Linked DNA regions of Homo sapiens: all the other regions are linked to region 3. Evidence: promoter capture Hi-C in human tissues and cell types (Jung and others, 2019). All regions are on one chromosome and are shown on one strand. The core of a region is centred on a gene start or on the middle of the fragment in contact, and the rest is flanking DNA. Distances in the headings are between cores, read along the strand shown.

Region 1 (3,218 bases), core at 435-2,934, 540 kb before region 3:
GAAATAGGTCCAAATCCTTATCAGACCAAAATTTCATCTTTATTTTTATTATTATTAGTTTTCTGAGACAGGCTCTCACTGCTCTGTTGCTCAGGCTGGAGTGCAGTGGCCCAATCTCGGCTCACTGCAACCTTTGCCTCCCGGGTTCAGTGATTCTCTTGCCTCAGCTCCTGAGTAGCTAGGATTACAGACGTGCACCACCACGCTCGGCTAAGTTTTGTATTTTTAATAGAGACAGGGTTTCGCCCTGTTGGCCAGACTGGTCTCGAACTCCTGACGTCATGTGATCTGCCCACCTCAACCTCCCAAAGTGCTGGGATTACAGGCATGAGCCACTGTGCCCAGCTTATTTTTATTTTTTGAGACACGGTCTTACTTTGTTGCCCAGGGTGGAGTTTAGTGGTGCAATCACAGCTCACTGCAGCCCCAAGTTCCAGAGCTCAAGCAATCCTCCCACCTCATCTTCCTGAGTAGCTGGGAGTACAAGCAAGAGCTACCTGGCTAATTTTTTTTTTTTTCCTGTAGAGGCAGAGTCTCACTATGTTGCCCAGGCTGGTCTTGAACTCCTGGCTGAAGTGATCCTCCTGCCTCAGCCTCCAAAAGTGCTGGGATTACAAGCTTGAGCCACCACGCCAGTCCCAGAATCTTTTTTTTTTTTTTTTTTTTTTTTTTTTTTGAGATGGAGACTTGCTCTGTCGCCCAGGCTGGAGTGCAGTGGCGCAACCTCGGCTTACTGCGACTTCCGCCTCCCAGGTTCAAGCAATTCTCCTGCCTCAGCCTCCCAGGGATCTATTAATGTTTAAGGACAAGTGGCAACTGTGGATGCCCAACATGGTTACTTAACAAGAAACCAATTTTTCAGAGGCCAAGAGTCCCAACAGGGCCGAGAATCTGGCCACTCGCCTATGGCTCTGGAGGTGGCATGACAAATAAGGGTGGCATGACAAATATAGGTTAACTGATTTGTTGCAGGGACCAGAGATCATAGATGGTGAAGTTAACTAAGGGCCTCCAAATCCGTGTCCTTTGTGCCAACAGGTGTGCCAGGCTGCTCACAAGACACCATGGTACGAGAAAGGATTTCTCGTAGTCACCTAGACACCAGGTTTATGGCTGTGTCGCAGCAAAGTTGGGTGTGACTTATGATTTTCGTTCTGAACCTTATTTGTTAGATAGGTCCTGGAGTCCTTAAAACACGCAGGTGAAAGTCAGGGAGTAGGAGCCATCAAAATTCGACTCTGGTGGGACTCGAACCCACAACCTTTGAATGACCACACTAGGCTCAGCTAGAAGTCCAATGCGCTATCCATTGCGCCACAGAGCCGGCTGCGGAACCCGGCCGCCCCGCTCACCTCTGCCTGAAACCGCCCTCTTAGCGAGCTTCTAGGTGTGGTGCTGGGTGTTTGCTGAACTCGGCCGGGGCCCGAGAGCGTGCTCCGGGTTTTCGGCTGTGGTGTGGACTGGGGTGCTCTTCCTACATCCGGGCGCTGGGGACAGCAGGGGGCAAGGGCCGGGGTCGGCAGGGAGGAAGGGCCGGGGTGAAGCCCGCCTGTCTCCTCGCGGACTCGGGGGTCTCCTCGGCTGGGTGGGGCCGCGCGGCGTGGACTACAACTCCCAGCGTGCCGCGCGGCGGCGCCGCCCGAAGCCGTTGCGCGAGCAGGGCGGGCTGGGGCCGAGCGGCGTCAGGCGCGCTGGGGCTGCGCTGCGCCGCCGGCTCTGTGGCTTGCCGGCTTCGGGGAAGGTGCGGCAGGCGGTGCTGCGGCCTGGCACAGCAGGTTTGGGGTGCGGGAGGCGGGCGGGGTAGGAGCGCGGCGGGCGGGGCCGGGCGGCGGGCGGGGCTGGCGGGGCGGCCGGGCCATGCAGGGCGCAGAGCCGGCTAAACCCTGCTGAGACCCGGCTCCGTGCGTCCAGGGGCGGCTAATGCCCCTCACGCTGTCTACGCTGCTGCAACCGGGCCGCATCTGGACGGGGCGCCGCGCGGCGGAGCCGACGCCGGGTGAGCATAGACCGGGCTGGTGGGTTCCCGGGTGGGGACATGTGCCAGGCCGAGTCGGGCGAGGTGGCGGTGCGGACCCCAGGTGGGGGGCGCGCCCTGCGGCGCTATTTCCCCGACAGACGCACTGTTACCTTGCTGTCTAGGGGCGAGGGCGGCACGCGTGACCCGGGACAGGGGCCCGAGGGAACTAGTCACCCTCTTCTGGCCTCTTCTTGCCCCAGCCTTCCAGGACAGGTTCCTGCCCCTCTGCTATGGCGGGCTATGGGAGGCCAGAGATCTGAGGACCCTGGACCCTGGCGTTGGGGTTGAGGACTCTGGTTCAGTTCCCCCGCCCCCGGCTTTTGCTTTTCGCGAGGGGGAGGGGGAGATGGTCTCCCAGGGCTTCTTGTGGTCCAGACCATTCCCTTTTCCTGGCTTGGAGGCTCTCAGGCCATTTCACATTTGTGACCTTCATCTACTCCCAAGAACAGGAAAACTCGGAGAAAAACAGTCCCATCAGATGTCCCCTTGATCGAGTCCTCAAAGCTCCAGGAATAGAACCCAAGAGTCCTAGCTCAACCCAGCCCCTGAAGCACAGTCAAGTCATTCGCCTTCCCCTAAGCCCTAGACCCCAAAGATTCATCCGAGTGGCTGTGTGTGTCTGTGTGATGGGTGGTGGTGTCTTCAAGGTCCTCCTCGCCTCCCTCAATCAGCTTTGCCCCCTGGGCGGTCACCTTTCAAGCACTTCCAGGCTCTAACTCGTTTTCTGGGTCGCCCTCTATAGACCAACAGACGCACTGCGATACCTGAGTCTATGGGCAGGGACCAAGCAGGGCTCCTTTTCCAGGGAGCTGCCCCTTTGACTTGGCCTGGTCATCCACAGAACCTCCCTGGGTTCTGGGTGGGGAGTCGAGCCAGAGACTTTTTTTTTCTTTTTTTGAGACGGAGTCTCGCTCTGTCTCCCAGGCTGGAGTGCAGTGGCACAATCTCGGCTCAATGGAACCTCCGCCTCCCGGGTTCAAGCAATTCTTCTGCCTCAGCCTCCTGAGTAGCTGGGGTTACAGGTGTGTGCCACCATGCCTGGCTAATTTTTGTATTTTTAGTAGAGACAGGGTTTCACCATCTTGGTCAGGGTGGTCTCGAACTCCTGACGTCATGATCCGCCTGCCTCGGCCTCCCAAAGTGCTGGGATTACAGGTGTGAGCCACCACTGCCAGCGAGCCAGAGGCTCTTAAGTCAGTAC
Region 2 (3,238 bases), core at 246-2,745, 680 kb before region 3:
CTGCTTGTTCCCCATGCCTGCCTCGAAGATTCCTCCCCACAAGGGTCACTCTCTGATCACCATCTTCACAATAGCAACACCACCCTACCCCGCCCCTGCTTTCTTGCTCTGCAGGGCACGCCATCTAACAGGGCCATCGTTATTGCCCTATTTGCATATTGTCTGTCTTTTTCCACTGAATTGTCAGCCACATGTGGGTAAGGACTTTGTCCGTTTTGCTCACTGCTTTATCTCTGGAGTCTAGCATAGTACCTGGCTCAACAAATACGCATTAAATGGATGAGTAAGTGAACAGTCTCCAATTCACAGACCACTTTGTCAGCAGTGCCCCCACACTGTTCACAGCGCAGGGAAATGACTCACCGACTCCCCATGAGCACAGTGTAGGCTAGCCTTCCCTTCCTAGCCTCCACCGTGAATACTAATTAGGTTTCTTAAATGCAGAGATGGACGGCTGGGCTCAGGGCCCCATGGTCTGTCTGTGTGAAAGGGTACGCAGGGTAGGATTGTAGGAGCCCTGGATTTGAATCCCACTGTTTTACGCTGTTTTACCACCATCCTGATGGGTTGGAGCAAAGACTTCCACTCTCTAGGACAAGAGCTTCCAACTCTCCCAAGAAGGGCCCTCCAGGTGTCAGGGCCTCTGCACTTGCTGGTCATTCAGCCTGGCATGCTCTTCCCCTGATCTGCTTGCTGCTGGCTCCTTCTCATCATTTTGGTCTCTTCTCAAATGTCACTTCTGCAGAGAACACCCCCGACTCCTGCCAAGCCAATGTGAACTTTCCACACCCACAAAGATACCTTTTTTCACCCTGTTTATTTCCTCCATCCCTCTTACTATGAATTATTTTCATTTTTACTATTTCATTTATCTGCTTACTTATTTACTGTCTGTCTCCCCAGCTTGATGCAAGATCTATGAGGGCAGAGGCCTTGGCTGTCTTATTCGTTGCTGAATCTTCAGTGCCTAGGACAGGGCCTGGCTTCTAGCAGGTACCTAGTAAATATTTGTTGAATTCATGTTCCAACTTTCTCCTTCTAGAAACAAGGAAACTGAGGACCAAAGGCAGAAGAGGACATGTTGGAGATCAGAGTCAGGATCTAGGGATAGAAGCCAGCGAGATGAAGGGGAACTCATCTCGGAGTTCTGACCTCTGAGGTCAGGAGGCTGTGACCTCAGAGGAAGCCCATCTGCTCTCCAGGCCTGTTTCCTCATCGGTAAGATGGAGTGAAACATCCAGACCACTCTCCAAGAGGCCTGGTACTAGGAGTGAGACCCAACCCATTGACAAATATATTCTGCGCAGCATCCGCGCACCCCAGACACTGCTAAAGCACCCCAAAAGCCGCAGAAGGTGAAAACTACGACACCCATGATGCCCCGGACGGCGCCTGCGCACGGCGGCCGGCCCGCAGCGCCGCGGGCTCCCCCTAGCGGCGTCCGGGAGCGGTGCTCGCTCCGATCCCCGAGGGGCGGGGGCCCCGCGGCGCAGGCAGTCTGGGCGCGCGGCTGCAGCGGCGGAGCCGGAGTCGGAGCCGGGAGCGCTAGCGGCAGCCGGATCGCAGCCTGCGGGGCCCGCCGCAGCCATGGGCAACCGCGGCATGGAAGATCTCATCCCGCTGGTCAACCGGCTGCAAGACGCCTTCTCTGCCATCGGCCAGAACGCGGACCTCGACCTGCCGCAGATCGCTGTGGTGGGCGGCCAGAGCGCCGGCAAGAGCTCGGTGCTCGAGAATTTCGTAGGCAGGTAGGCGCGGCGCGCCCCCAGGCGCCGACCCCCGACCCCCGGGATCCCTGGAGTCCCCGCCCGGGGCACTGACGGCGCGGCGACCTCGCAGCCCCCGACGCTGCACCCGCGGCCGGCGCGCCCCCCACCCCCAGCCGGAGCGAGGAGGCCCTCCCCCCACCACGAGAGCCCCTCGGGGCAGCAGCGCCCCCCGCTAGTCTGCAAACGTCGTCAAGCCTCCGGCTACCGAATCACGCCCCCTCCTCCGTCCCATCCTTTAGGGCAGACAACGCTCTGCCAGAAGCCCCGGGCAAAGAGCTGCCCCCCGCCCCCAACATGGGCATGGAGAGAGCCCGCATTACTCAGCGTCTCCGTTGGGCTCCGGGAGTCCCTTGGAGCGGGCAGCACCCGGGGGCAGCGTCCCCCACACCGGGCTCAATGGGGGACATCCCCCTACCCCCATGGGAATTCCTGGGCCGTGGCAGAGGTCAGCCCCCGCATCCCAGTCCCTAGAAGAGGACGTAGTCCCGCGGGCATCGAGGACCGGGCACGGCCTCCCGCCAGCACACACACACCTCTGCGGCTCCCGCCGCCATCCGTGCGCAGCGCGGCGAGGGGGGAGGCGCGGGCTGCAGGATGAGGAAGGGAAGAGGGGAGGAGAAACCACTTCTTATCCTTTTCTGAGCAGCCGGCCCCTTGCTTCGCCACGGCCCCTGGGTGGGGGGCGCCTGTCAGTGTCGCCCTCCCCTTGGCCTGGCCAGAGGAATCGTGTTGGAGGGAGAGGCGGCAGAGGGCAGAGATGACTAAGACAGGGATGGCGGGAGGGGGGAGCCATTTGCAGAACCTAATCCCCCTCCCGCCTCTGATCCCACAAGGCGCTGAGAGGCCTAGGTGGCGGAGAGAGGAACAACCGCAAAGACAAAGGGTCGTGGGTTTAGCGGGGCAGGCAGGGTCGTGACCCGCAGGCTCCCCACAAACCCCCAAAGGGAGGCAGAAATAGTTTTTCTGGTGCTGAGGAGAGAGAAGAAAGATAGGAGCTCTCCAGGTACTGGAGGTGGGTTGGGGGGCTGGGCAGACTGGGGGATGAAGTGAGAGAGTTTACACTGACCCCGTCTTTCATCTCCCCCCCATCTTCTTCAGAAACTCTTGCTTTCTTCCAATGACCTTCAGGGCCAAAAAAGTGACTGGCACATGGGAGAGGGAGGCAGGGGCCCTTGTCCGCAGAGGTACAGCAGTTCTGTCCAAGCCAGGTTCTGCTGCAAAACCTCAGGCAAGTCACTTGCCCTCTCTGAGCCTCAGTGTCCCCATCTCTAACATGGACAGTGGGACTGGGTGGTTGTTCCTGCCCCTCAAATGTCCTGGGAAACCCATGCCAGCCCTAGAGGTGAGAGGGAGAGGGCCTGACTGGAGCCATGTGTGTGTGGGACGTTGGAAGGCCACCGTGGGGGCGGCCGTGCCCATCTGGTCAGCAGAGGGGAAGGCATCTGTCTCTCCAATGGCTCCTGCAGAGC
Region 3 (2,820 bases), core at 27-2,526:
TGGATGGGAGCCACGACTATCTTCATCATCTTATTTTTAATTATCTATCTGTGCACATGGTAGTAAATTTCTCGCCCTGGCCCAGGTACCCAAGACCCCAATTCTGTCGGAGACAACCGCAATTAACAACTTCTTGTGCATCTTATCAGACAGCTGGCGCGCACACCCGCAGATACGCCCACCCTCAGGCGTCCTTCTACGCAAAGATGGATAGCACCCATCAACGCTGTTTTTTCTTTTTTTAGACGGAGTCTCGCTCTGTCGCCCAGGCTGGAGTGCAGCGGCGCGATCTCGGCTCACTGCAAGCTCCACCTCCCGAGTTCATGCCATTCTCCTGCCTCAGCCTCCAGAGTAGCTGGGACTACAGGCGCCCACCACCACGCCCGGCTGATTTTTTTGTATTTTTAGTAGAGATGAGGTTTCACCAAGTTAGCCAGGATGGTCTCGATCTCCTGACCTCGTGATCCGCCCGCCTCGGCCTCCCAAAGTGCTGGGATTACAGACGTGAGCCACCGCAACCGGCCCAACGCTGTTTTTACTGTTGTTTCCTTTTTTAACCTAAGGTATCTTAGAAGTCACCCTACATTAGTGCATATTAAACATTGTTCGTCTTAATGGCTGCACAGTATTCCACTGTATGGATTATTTTTTAATTTGGTTGCCGGTACTGTTATCAGCCAGGGAATTTGCGAGGACCCAGCGGGATTTATGGAGCTGCAGAGTTGGAGTCTGGGGACCCAATTCCAACCCCAGATCTGTCCAGAATTCTGTTGTCTCGGGTATCATCTCCACCGGCGCGGTCGTGGGAGGGGGATTTGGGTGCAGACAGGACCAGCCCCAGTGTCCGAGCGAGAATCAGCGAGCAGCACGCGCAGTTGATTCCCGCGGGCGGCTCAATCATTCTGTGCAGCCACTCCGTTATACTTAGTAGCATCAAACTCATTAAGCACTCTAGCACAACCAAGCTCGGAACCGTTAGCCGACCCTCCCAGCCTCGGCACCTGACCTTGGGGAAGTGGCGCTCCGACACAGCTACTCACCCTCACCTGGGCCGCTTCACCCCTCGTTCCCAAGTACACCCCGTAGGTTGCAGCAGTCCCTGTCCCTTTAAGGGGGCCGAGCCCGGCTCCGCTACTTCCGCCCCGAAGCAGCAGGGCGCTAGCGCGGAGGCGAGAGCGGGAGAAAGCGCCGCTAGAATTCTCCTCATAAAGATGGCGACGCCCTGGCCGCCGCGTTCGCGCCCGGCGGTGACGTCACTTCCGGGGCGGAGGAGGCTGAGTGGTGCAGTGAGGGACAAACAAAAGGAGGCGCCGGAGCAGCGCTGCGGCCGGCGGCGGGACGGAGCGGCCGGGGCCTGGGGCTGCCTGCCGGGCGGCCGGGCGCGGCGAGCCCAGGTGAGTGGACGGGGTGGGGAAAGGGGCGCGAGCTGTCACCTCTCGAAACCCACTTACACACGCCCTCGGCCAGCTGCCCGGCCCGGGGCGCCCGGGGCATCTGGGGCTCTGTCTCCGGGCCGGCCCCCTGGGGACCTCCCGCGGTGTTCGGCCTACCTCTGGGCTCCCCAGTGCCCGGAGTCTCCGGGGCACCACCTTCTCGCCGGCTCCGCGGCGCGCGAGCCCCCTCCCAGGCACCCCTGTGCCTCCTTGTGCTTCAGAAACCAGGAGTTTCCGCCTCGGCTCCCCCATGTCCCCTTGTCATCCCCTGGGTCCCCCCAGATCCTCACCCCTCCACACACACTCTCCCGTTCCTAGAGGTTCCACCTCTGGGCTCTCTCCTTGCCATTTCTTTTTCAAAGATTTCCTTAGCTGTCTTCTCCTGAGTTCCTGGTCCCCTTCTCTTCCCTTGCACCCCTCCTTCCTATCGTTCCGATGGGGGCAGTGCCCTGACTTGGGGGCAGGATCCCCGGCTAGGCTCTTGGGGCCTTTCTGGGATGGGATATTTGGGAAGACCGGTCCGGAATCTAAGAACCCAGACCCTGTCCCAGTCCTGTGCATTCAGGTGGGCCCGAGGGCGAGGCGAGATCCAGTGAGGTCCAGGCCTGGTGCAGCCCTAGGTGAGCTGGATACCCAGCAAACTGAGCTCCCAGGCTGAAGGGGCATAGCTGGGGTCATGGAGTTCATGATGATTCTGCTGCTTTCGCTGACTGCTTCTTCCCCTTGATCTGGACCGGGGTGAACCGAGGTCTGCCGGTTCTCAGCTGTTGCGATTGTTGCCTTTTTTGGGAAGGAGGGATGGGTCGGGGGTTGTCTGGTAGCCGCCTCCTGATGGAGACTTGGCTGGAAGGGTGGGCGGTTCCTGGGTGAGCCACACTTCCACTGACTCCTCTTCCCCTGCCCTACCTCAGGAAGCCTTTTGAGAATGAGGTGTGGAGGGAGAGCACCTGGTAAGAGGAAGGGAACTGGGGGAGCCCGAAGTTCCCAAGGACCTCTTCCACCTCTTCTGTTAGTAGTACTCTTAACCCCTGCCAAACTGTATTCTGCCCTTTGGAGCAGACAACCTGGCAGACAGACAGGCTGTAAGAAGCGGGAGGAGATCGGCTGTTGCTGATACTTCCTGTGGAGGGGATGTGGGAGTGGGAGTTTGTTCAGAGAGACTGGGCAGTGCTGATTGCTCAGTCTCACTGGTGTTGCTTCCATGAAGGTCAAGTCTTCCTCTGGCTCATGAAGTGAGGCAAGGACAGATGACCTGTGCTGGAGGAGGCTGTTGTGGACATGCCAGGGATGAGTGACTGGGTGGCTGGTCTCTGCTTCCTTGTTTTCCTGGTCTCAGGGCTTTGGCATGGGGTCTGATGCCCTCTGCGTTCTAGGGACCATAGGGTAC

Evidence for each region. Contacts are between HindIII fragments. The study calls those that stand out against the background at their distance.
Region 1: a contact is called between the fragment with the promoter of SLC27A4 here and the fragment with the promoter of LRRC8A in region 3, in 1 of the 25 tissues and cell types used here (heart left ventricle).
Region 2: a contact is called between the fragment with the promoter of DNM1 here and the fragment with the promoter of LRRC8A in region 3, in 1 of the 25 tissues and cell types used here (dorsolateral prefrontal cortex).

Annotation. Positions count from the first base shown.
Region 1 is chr9:128,338,843-128,342,060 of GRCh38, forward strand. SLC27A4 (solute carrier family 27 member 4) reads left to right here and starts at 1,685. Exons shown (of 13, transcript NM_005094.4): 1 at 1,685-1,996. It overlaps TRR-TCT3-1 (tRNA-Arg (anticodon TCT) 3-1), which reads right to left and starts at 1,324; the gene lies at 1,234-1,324. RefSeq lists silencers at 1,062-1,703, 1,332-1,741, 1,812-2,211 and an enhancer at 2,848-3,027. The HindIII fragment of the contact is 12,819 bases long and covers 1-3,218 here.
Region 2 is chr9:128,201,884-128,205,121 of GRCh38, forward strand. It overlaps DNM1 (dynamin 1), which reads left to right and starts at 1,496. Exons shown (of 22, transcript NM_004408.4): 1 at 1,496-1,748. The coding sequence starts at 1,588. It also overlaps a transcript of CIZ1 not described here. RefSeq lists enhancers at 1,179-1,278, 2,710-3,238 and silencers at 1,339-1,558, 2,127-2,421. The HindIII fragment of the contact is 10,387 bases long and covers 1,409-3,238 here.
Region 3 is chr9:128,880,857-128,883,676 of GRCh38, forward strand. It overlaps LRRC8A (leucine rich repeat containing 8 VRAC subunit A), which reads left to right and starts at 1,277. Exons shown (of 4, transcript NM_019594.4): 1 at 1,277-1,394. It overlaps KYAT1-SPOUT1 (KYAT1-SPOUT1 readthrough), which reads right to left and starts at 1,094. Exons shown (of 25, transcript NR_182311.1): 1 at 1,041-1,094. It overlaps KYAT1 (kynurenine aminotransferase 1), which reads right to left and starts at 1,094. Exons shown (of 13, transcript NM_004059.5): 1 at 1,041-1,094. RefSeq lists an enhancer at 1,164-1,313 and a silencer at 1,344-1,623. The HindIII fragment of the contact is 17,929 bases long and covers 1-2,820 here.